Linked DNA regions of Homo sapiens: region 2 is linked to region 1. Evidence: promoter capture Hi-C in human tissues and cell types (Jung and others, 2019). All regions are on one chromosome and are shown on one strand. The core of a region is centred on a gene start or on the middle of the fragment in contact, and the rest is flanking DNA. Distances in the headings are between cores, read along the strand shown.

Region 1 (4,418 bases), core at 662-3,161:
GATTTCCAGTCCACAATAGCCTTTTAAAGACTCTATGAAGTCCTATGGTTAATTTTTTAGAAGTATGTTCCTTTGTTTAAATAAGCATTTCTGAATTTATTTGGCACACAGTTCTGTTAATCCATAATACCTATTAACTTTAGAAAATTCTAGTTACTGTAAAGAAATGCACGTTTAAAAAGCCTGTAATATGTATAATGTAAGCCCAAATTACAAGAGAATTTAAAATTTTAAACAATAAAATATAAAAATAATTTAAAGTAAGTTACCCTTTATTTAATGCCTACTTTGTATCAGATACTAGAAATTCTAATCCATGTGTAACATTTTAAATCCTTGGATGATTCTCTTTTTATAGACAATGTAAGCCCCTCACAAGTGATAATACAGTCAGAGTCAATGAGTAAATTAGTAAAGCCCTAAAACAAACTCAGATCTGACATCAATGTCTGTGCTCAGTCCTGCAGAGAACACTACTTCAGCAAATCTTCAGCATTTCAACTACACTAAAATTAAAATGAATTTGTGAGATAGCTGGAGAACCACACACACAATTCATACTTCATATCACAATCCACTGAACAGAAAGTGGCTTCCATGCCACCACTTTTTATTATGTGCCACCTGAAACTTACCGGAAAAATATACTCATAAGCAAAGGGTATAGAAGTGGGTGTGTGGTCATGGGCAGAGAAGCCAGGAGCAGTGAAAAGGACAGGTTCTTAGCTGCAGCAGGTGGTCCCTGAGCCACCTATTTATAGTCGTTGCTCTATGAAAGAGCAAAGTTAATTTGGGGAAAAAGTCCTAGAGACTACCAAGCTATCACTGAAAGAAAAAGAAATGTTCATTAACTGCTAAAATTTTTAGTACAGCACATAAGAAACTTTACAGTGAAATCTAATTTCTGTCACTCATTTTAACCAAGAAAATGACGATTCTGTTACAATTTAAAATGTATCTAATGTGTAACTAAGTTTTCAAAATTTGACATTTGCCATGGTCTCTAAAGAGCTATATATAACCTCTGCTTCTGTGCTTTCCACTCTTGAAAAACTGTGAATAGGATGAACTTTAAAATAAGTATAAATGCTGAAATCTAAGTTCGATACGAAAAGGCTCAAGACGACATCTCAACATTTATTATGCTGACGTCCATTGAAACATAGATAACTATGTCAATGACGGTAGAGAAATATTTTTTGCACAATCCCACATTCTAGAAAGGAATACACGTGTCCCAATGCCTCCTGCTCTTGCAAAAGCCAGAAAAAAGTAGCATGGGAGGGAAGGGGAAGGCGAGATTCAGGGCTGCCAGTTCTTTTTGACAACTCCTTATGCACTAGCGGAGTGAGCCAGAGGACAGTGAAAGAGCACTAGGCGCTAGCAGTGATGACAAGCAAGTCTGGCACTGAACGCGCGCAGCGAACAGGAGTAGTAGACGCGCCGACTTACTCTGCACCTGCAGGTCCATCTCGCGCATTTCCGTGAAGCGGTCCCGCAGATCCATAGGAAGCTGCTCAATCACTGTCAAAGGGAGAGTCCGTCAGAGGGGCGGGGCCAACGGCGAAATACGCGCTTACGTCACTGCGCGCGTGCGTCAGGGGGGTCGAGGGGGCCGGCAGCCCACAACGAGGCTGCCAGTTACCGTGAGAAAGAAACATCCCCCGCCGCCCCCTCCCTCCCGCCATCTCGCTGCCCGTCCACTCGCGCTCTTGCCCGCCCGCACGTCCCACTGGCGGCCGCCGCCAGCGCCGCGCACTCACTTTCCAGATAGTCTTCTAGGTACAACATCGCGGCCCTTAGAGCTGAGGGAACAAGGGGGTCCAGGGGTTTATTTGTGTCACTCGCTGTCGCCGGAGTTTTGTCCCCTCCAATATGGCGCCTCCGCTAGCAGCACCCGCTCGACTCCGGCAAAAAAAAAAAAAGAAAAAAAAAAAAACCACTTTGGCGCCTGAGGCGCTTGCCTCACTGCCGCCCGGAGCTGCTATTGGTTGGTTCAAGCAATGACGTAGCCCGGCCGGTGTTCGCCCCCGTGCCTCTGTGGGAAATGTAGTTTTCTTCCTCCTCAGCGAGGGTTGGCGCGCTGGCGGCTCCCCTCGCAGAAACTACGAATACCGGGCGCCATTGCAAACAGTGCGTAACAGAATCCGAAATGCGGTGCCTCTGTTTATTTGTTGATTTTTGCACAGAGAATGGCGGGAGTTGTATGCACCTGCATAACACAACTAGGAACAACTTTTCACCTGTTCTTTGATGTGATTCCATGCCCCGGCGTTTGTGAGTTATGGGTTTCAAGAAGTGCCAGGCAAATAGCAAAGGTTCTAAACACTAGAATAATCAGCAAAGTTCGGGGAATTTGGATTGCTTAAAATAGAACTCTCTACTGGAATTTATCCTCATTATTCACTCTAAAATATAAAAGAGACACCTGGTTGGCTTACGTGTAATTTTAAAATAGTTTATACTGAGACTATGGAGTGAATATACATTTCCCAGATTAAAAGATGCACAAATAGTGTCAGTAGCCACTTATATATTCTAGTTTGCGGTCCATCTAATCGTCATTCTAATGTAATTGATCTATACATACAATCTGCATCCGCAAATAATAATAATAATAATCTTCATCATCACAGTGAGCAGCCATGAATTACGGATGCAGCCTTGATTTCTAATAGGCTGTTAATAGCAGTAACTTTATGTTGAGTAAATAGTCCATATTCGAGGTTGGTTGTCTTCGGCGTTCTTTAGTTTCTACTTTTCGACCTCTCCCAGCAAATGTTTTCCTGTGATATATTTAGTACGTCCCTACTCAGTTTCTTTTTAAATTGTTTTTTATTAAAAACTCTTGCACTCAATAAATGCTAGATATTGTTATTTTCCACTCTTCTTAACTTTTCGATTTTCTGGGGAAATTGTCATTAGTTCATAATTTATTGTTCATTTTCTGTTTTTCAAATTGCAGTTGAAACTGTGTGTGTGTGTTTCTTGCTTTCCTTCTCCATTACATACTCTTGTACTCAAGGTTTTCACTGCTCTTAAGCAGGAAACTTTCCTGTCGTGAATGATGAATCATGATGAATCTCAACGGAACCTTACTTCGATCCTAATAAGAATTAGAATTTTATAGTTTCTAGTTAAGTTTTTCATTACTTCCATCGAAAATCAAGTACTTTCGATCTTTTTCTCCCTTCTTTTTTTCCTCCTTTCTTCGTTTCCCATCCTTCCTTCTTCTGGCTGCTTTTAACATCTCTTTGACATCTTTTTGCAGTTTTGTAGTGATCTAAGTCTGAATTCCTTCCTTATTCCCTTTTCTTTCCTTAAAATTTTAAAATTATGCTTAGGATTTGAGGGGATTCCTGAATTTCAGGATTGGTGCCCTGCAACAATTCTAGAAAATTCTCAGCGTTTGTCTTTTCAGTATTGCTTATTTCTCATTTTTTCCATTAAGACTTTCTCTCTTTATTCTCTTATTTATCTTAATCTTTCTTTTATATGTTTTATTTTAGAATTTTCATAATTTTTCAGGTTTGGAAGTTCTATTCGGTTCTCTTTTCAAGACATCTTATAATTTCTTATACAAATTATTTAGTCTGTATCTTGTTTCTGTTAAACCTAATATTGAAACATTTATGGGCCTTTTAGTGCTATTTCTTCAGAAATGGGCACTTTTACTCATGGTGGCTTTTTCCTGTTGGGTTGCGATTTTGGACTCTGAATTCCTGTTTCTGGGATTACAAGCATAAGGATTCTTTGAGCTGGAGTTGAAATTGAGTTTTCATGGAGAGCATTAGAATTTGCTTGTCAGTTTGTTTGGAGACATCATAAACCCCTAGGACCAGATTAAATTGTCCCCTTGAGGTTTATTGTATTGCACAGATAGATTGAATTTGGGCCTCTATCCCAAATGGATTGTTACAGATTCTCAGAGGAGAATTTTTTTTTCTTTCTTTACTGGGCTCCAAGGCCAAGACAGACATGTTTCATTACTGGCCTATTCTGTGCATGAGGCTTATATGTCATTTACCCTTACATGGAGAGTATAGTCCATTGGGGCCCCAGATTTTTGTCTGCTGTAAGACTCTTCCTTTTAAACTGATACTTGGGTTTATCTTCTGACCCTGGCATGCTGCACAGCTATTAAAGTAAGAGCTCTAGGTGTCCAGAACTTGACAGATAGTCTCTGAACAAAAGCCTACTTTGGCTTGCACTTATTTCTCAGGATATTTTCATTTTCCTTCTTTTTCCCCTTTTATATTCGTTCTGAAAATTCCTTAATTTCCTACTAGTTCATCAGTGTATTTTTTTAAATCTAGCACTTTTAGTTGTTTTTGCCAGGTGGCTCTTTCAGAGTAGCTAAAATGGTATGCTATCATGAATAGAAGTACATCATTTCAGTGTAAACTGAGCTTCCTCAG
Region 2 (4,418 bases), core at 1,405-3,904, 670 kb after region 1:
TGACTCTAATACTTCTAGACTAAAGCAAAAAATCAAACATTAGGAATAGCCTGTAGGGCACATTCCTTTCTGATTCAATATTGTTTCTAATGTGCATTATTAGGTTGATCTAATTTAAGAAGAATACAAAAACACCTCATTTGATACAATCTAGACATATTTTCATAAGTTTGAATGTGCTATCTAAAACAATATGGAGAAGAATTTCATTTTTCCAAAGTGCACTAAGATGGTATAGGGTTAGACAGCCTTAATTTCTACAGCATGACGAAAGGAAACCAGCGAATGGTTGGAGTGTGCGCGCGTGTGTGTGTGTGCGTGTGCATGTGTGTGTGTGTTAGCCCCCATGAATCCTTGCTTCCTTATCAGGAAATAGGCCTCTGGAAAGAACTGGGTAAGATGCAGAGTTATCTAGAGGGCAAATGTCTTCATGGAAACAGCATGCTAAAGTGAGAGGCCACACTGAATTCCTCTAGATTCAAAAACTATTTTCACAATTTGTTCATCTGGAAAGCATACCCTTTTTTTGCATTTTTATGTTGTTAATCCAATTTTTCTTTCTCCAAACCCATGTATTTCCAATTATCCATTCATGGTTATAGTTTATTCTTCAGCATGGTGATTCTTATCAAAGCATTGCTTCTGCAAGTTTTCATCACACATCTGCTATAAACATGGTCTCAATTTAATTTGTGTTGAAAAATACATATCCTATGGCAATCTTCACAGATTTTAAGGTATGTAAGCCATTTTGTCTTTCAGGCTTATATAACTAACAAAACACCTGGAAAAGATATATATGTACCTACTGCAAAGTGACAAAAAAGGAATGAAAATCCTTTAACTAGAATTCAAAATGTGTGTAATATTCTTGAACACTAATATTACAATTGACAACTATTAAGTATGCAAATCTATATTCAAAAGAAATAATTATCTGCATCAGTTCCCAAATAATTCCATATCCACTGAGCACTAGCCTTGTCTTTTCAGCTAAAATATGGAATTCAGTTTTCATTTGAACTAGTTTTATTTGTGTTATTAGTAACAATTTACTTATGTATTAGAAAATACTCATTTTTTAGATAATCTCCTGAATAATTGGATATAAATTTTAAGCTAAGGTAAATATAAAAAACTAATGAAGGATGAAAATTTATTCATGGTAAATAATTTTAATTTGACCATTTAAAAATGTTTTAAATGTTTTAGAGCATTTGCTCCTTTTAACACAGAAATCATATCCTATCCCTACCATGCTCACAACTCTCTAATGGCTCCCCCTTTCATCTTAAATGAAATCAGAAGTCTTTATTGTGGTCTATCATATCCTACATAGTCTAGTCCTAACTACTTTTCAGATTCCATTTGCTACTAAGCCCCTTACTCTCTTTGCTTCTATTACAGGGACATTAGATAGAATTGATGAAACTTCATCCCACCTTGAAGTCTTTGTACTCCTTTTCTCTCTTCCTCTAATTCTCTTCATCCAGATAGTCAGAAAGTCATTTCATCACTTTAATCAGCCATTGGCTTAAATGCCAACCCCTTGGAAAAGCCTTGTTTGTCCCCTATGCAAAATAGCAGGCTTGTTACCCAGATGTATTTTGTTCATAGCACTCATCTCTACGTGGCATTATATCATATATTTACATTTTTATTTCTGACTCTTCCACTATTTTAGTTTTAAATAGTTCCTAAGGTGAGAAAGTTGACCTTTTGGTTACTGCTGTGGTCAATGACAGGTAGCAAGTGATCAACAAAGGTCTATTATGTTGAATTGAACTCTGTGAGCCACAGTCTGATTCCCTGAGAGTGTATGTTACTGGTGTTATTTTGGGTTTCCAAGAGCACTATTACTGATATTGTTAAAAGTGAAGAAAATGAAGAAGACGGAAGAATTAGGTCCACATAAAAGCAAAAAAGACAAGACCTTTTACTTTTAGAACAAAATCTTCCCATTCTATTTGACATTATCTCAACTGTCATCCTACTCTTTCAATGTTATTTTTTCCCATTATTAACCTCTAGGAACTCATTCCCTACTCCCCCCACACTTTTAATGATTTAGATCATTACATAATAGACTTGTCAAAATTCCCAAGGCAAAATGGATTGCGTTATGCTAGAATATATACCTACATTTATCTTTACATTTTGTAATCTGCCTTTTAATTTCTTAGAATGTTAACTTCTTCCTGATGGTGATTACATTGAGCTTTTCCTGACAGAAATTGCATCTATCTCCTATGTCATTTACAGACAATATTTCCCTATTTTAAAAAATTCTATTTTATGCATAAATGAGAAAACCTGGATGAAAAACAAGAGTTCCAGCTTGTGTTACTGGTAAGAGAGAACACCTTTCTAGTGATGAAGCATCATCAAAGTATCTGTTGACCCATGGGCTTTTTAAGCTACTCGTATTTACATAAGGAACTGGGCTTTCAAGGGAAGGTAGTATATTTCTATGTTGATTCACCTATATCATGAAGCATCTCCATATGCTTCCCAAAGGCATCCGCAATTTACCTGGACTTCACCAGAAATCAAACTGTTCAAGAAAATGGCAACTGGTAGCCATTAATTCTAGCCTTTGCAGAGTAGTTAGTTATGGATGAAAAAGTTGAGGTCTCACAGCCCTTCCCAGTCAAAAAGAGAAAAATTAAAAGGGTACATTTAGTAGATGAGAGGACAAAATGTTCAAATAACAAATGTAAATACTTTTAACATTGAACAAAGCAAAATAATTTGGCTTAAGAGTAGCAGATTATTGCTAATGTTGAGATGGCACAGCTCCATGGCTAAGGAGCTCTCCATGGCGTACAAGTGCCATCTCACACCATGATCAGCAACACATTAACATAGATATTTTCCTACATTTGAGCACCGAACTAGGTAATAACTCCCCAGAAGGTATACACTCAAACCTCAAAAGCCTTTCAATTTAGTTAGAATGTCAAGAGGTAAAACCATAAATTATATATAAAAATGACACTTACTAATATCAAGCACAATTCCAACTATAAATGACGTAGGCTTGCTTAGGGGGCTGAAAAGCCTTCATGGAGAAGGTCAACGTAAAGGCTGCCTCTCAAAGGAGAAAACTAAAGGGCAAAACATTCAAAGAGCAGTGCAAATATGCACAAAAATGGTGTTTCACCCTGGGGTTTTTTTTTTTTTTTCAATATCAGACGCTATCCCACATCATCAAATCTAGCTGCAGAAGCTAGTGGGAGAGCAATGCTTATACATACATATGTACATAAATACATACATACATGCATACGTGTGTGTGTATCCCTGCTTAGAAAACAATATAAGACATATGGAGAGTAGAAGGGAGGAAAGGGAATGAATTCATTATCACAACTTTAAAGGAAAAAATATACTTCCTTTTCAGTGAATGTTTATTTCACCATTTGTGTTCTTTCAATGAAAGAGAAGTTAAATTGCATATTTTTAATGACTCATAGGCCAACTCTTTCAGGAAATTAGGGCAAAATAACTGAATTCTTTTCCATCAGGCCAGGTAAAAGATTCACCATTGAGTAGTTTGCCGCCAAACGGCCTGAAAGTTCACTGGATGAGAATACAAGGTTGTATTATATCAGATGGGCACCATTATGATAAACCCCAGTGCTGTTTGAATAAATGCAGAGCCAGCAGTGATATTGAGGAATGTGGAATGAGTCACATCAATAGAACTAAGGGAGAAATGCACTACATTAATAGAATAAATAGCAAATGTATTCCTTCTCTTATCCCTGTATAATCAGCAGCAGTCCCGATAATTATTATAACACATTTCTAGATAATGTTTTAGGGTCTTCAGAAGAAAATGAGCATAAAAGTGAAATTTCAAAAAATATTGCTGCTATCCAATTATGTAACTATGGACAAGCCACACAATTCTTAAATGAACAAAATTATTAATTTTAAATAAATGATGGGTCACTTTTCTTCCACTAGGAATGTAGAGATCAGGTAATAAGAAATTTGAACTTTGTGACTCATTTTCAAAGATGAGTATAATTGAGAGGAATGTTCAGAAGTAAATGATGTAAATATAAAAATAAAATAAGACAGTTTATCAGTAGTCTAAAGGAAAATTAAAAATAAAAAAGAATAGCATAACAGACCCACTGAAAATTTAAAAATAGCGTTTTCTCTAGGGTACTATGTTGAAATAACACATATTAAACCTTTTCTGAAATACCTCTGTCTGGCAACCAAGTAAATGCTGAAGTACTACAGGCTGGATTAACATACATATTTTTAAATTCCACATCAAATATTGTCTCTAATTCAAGTGATGGCTAAAACAAAATGAAGACACATAAGATTTGGTTACTTGTAAGGCTAAAAGAGGAATACATACCACATTTCTCTACATTTCTTTAAAAGTTCATTTTCAA

The links. The method cuts DNA at HindIII sites, captures the fragments that hold promoters and counts their contacts. A contact is called where the count stands out against the background at its distance.
Region 2: a fragment that was not itself captured here is called in contact with the fragment with the promoter of ING3 in region 1 in 1 of the 25 tissues and cell types used here (H1 embryonic stem cells).

Annotation. Positions count from the first base shown.
Region 1 is chr7:120,948,270-120,952,687 of GRCh38, reverse strand. It overlaps ING3 (inhibitor of growth family member 3), which reads right to left and starts at 1,911. Exons shown (of 12, transcript NM_019071.3): 1 at 1,764-1,911; 2 at 1,453-1,524. The coding sequence starts at 1,791. RefSeq lists an enhancer at 1,289-1,368. The HindIII fragment of the contact is 14,638 bases long and covers 1-4,418 here.
Region 2 is chr7:120,280,195-120,284,612 of GRCh38, reverse strand. All of the region lies in intron 1 of KCND2 (potassium voltage-gated channel subfamily D member 2), which reads right to left. Among named protein-coding and RNA genes, the nearest start is that of KCND2, 9.2 kb to the right of the region's middle. The HindIII fragment of the contact is 9,212 bases long and covers 1-4,418 here.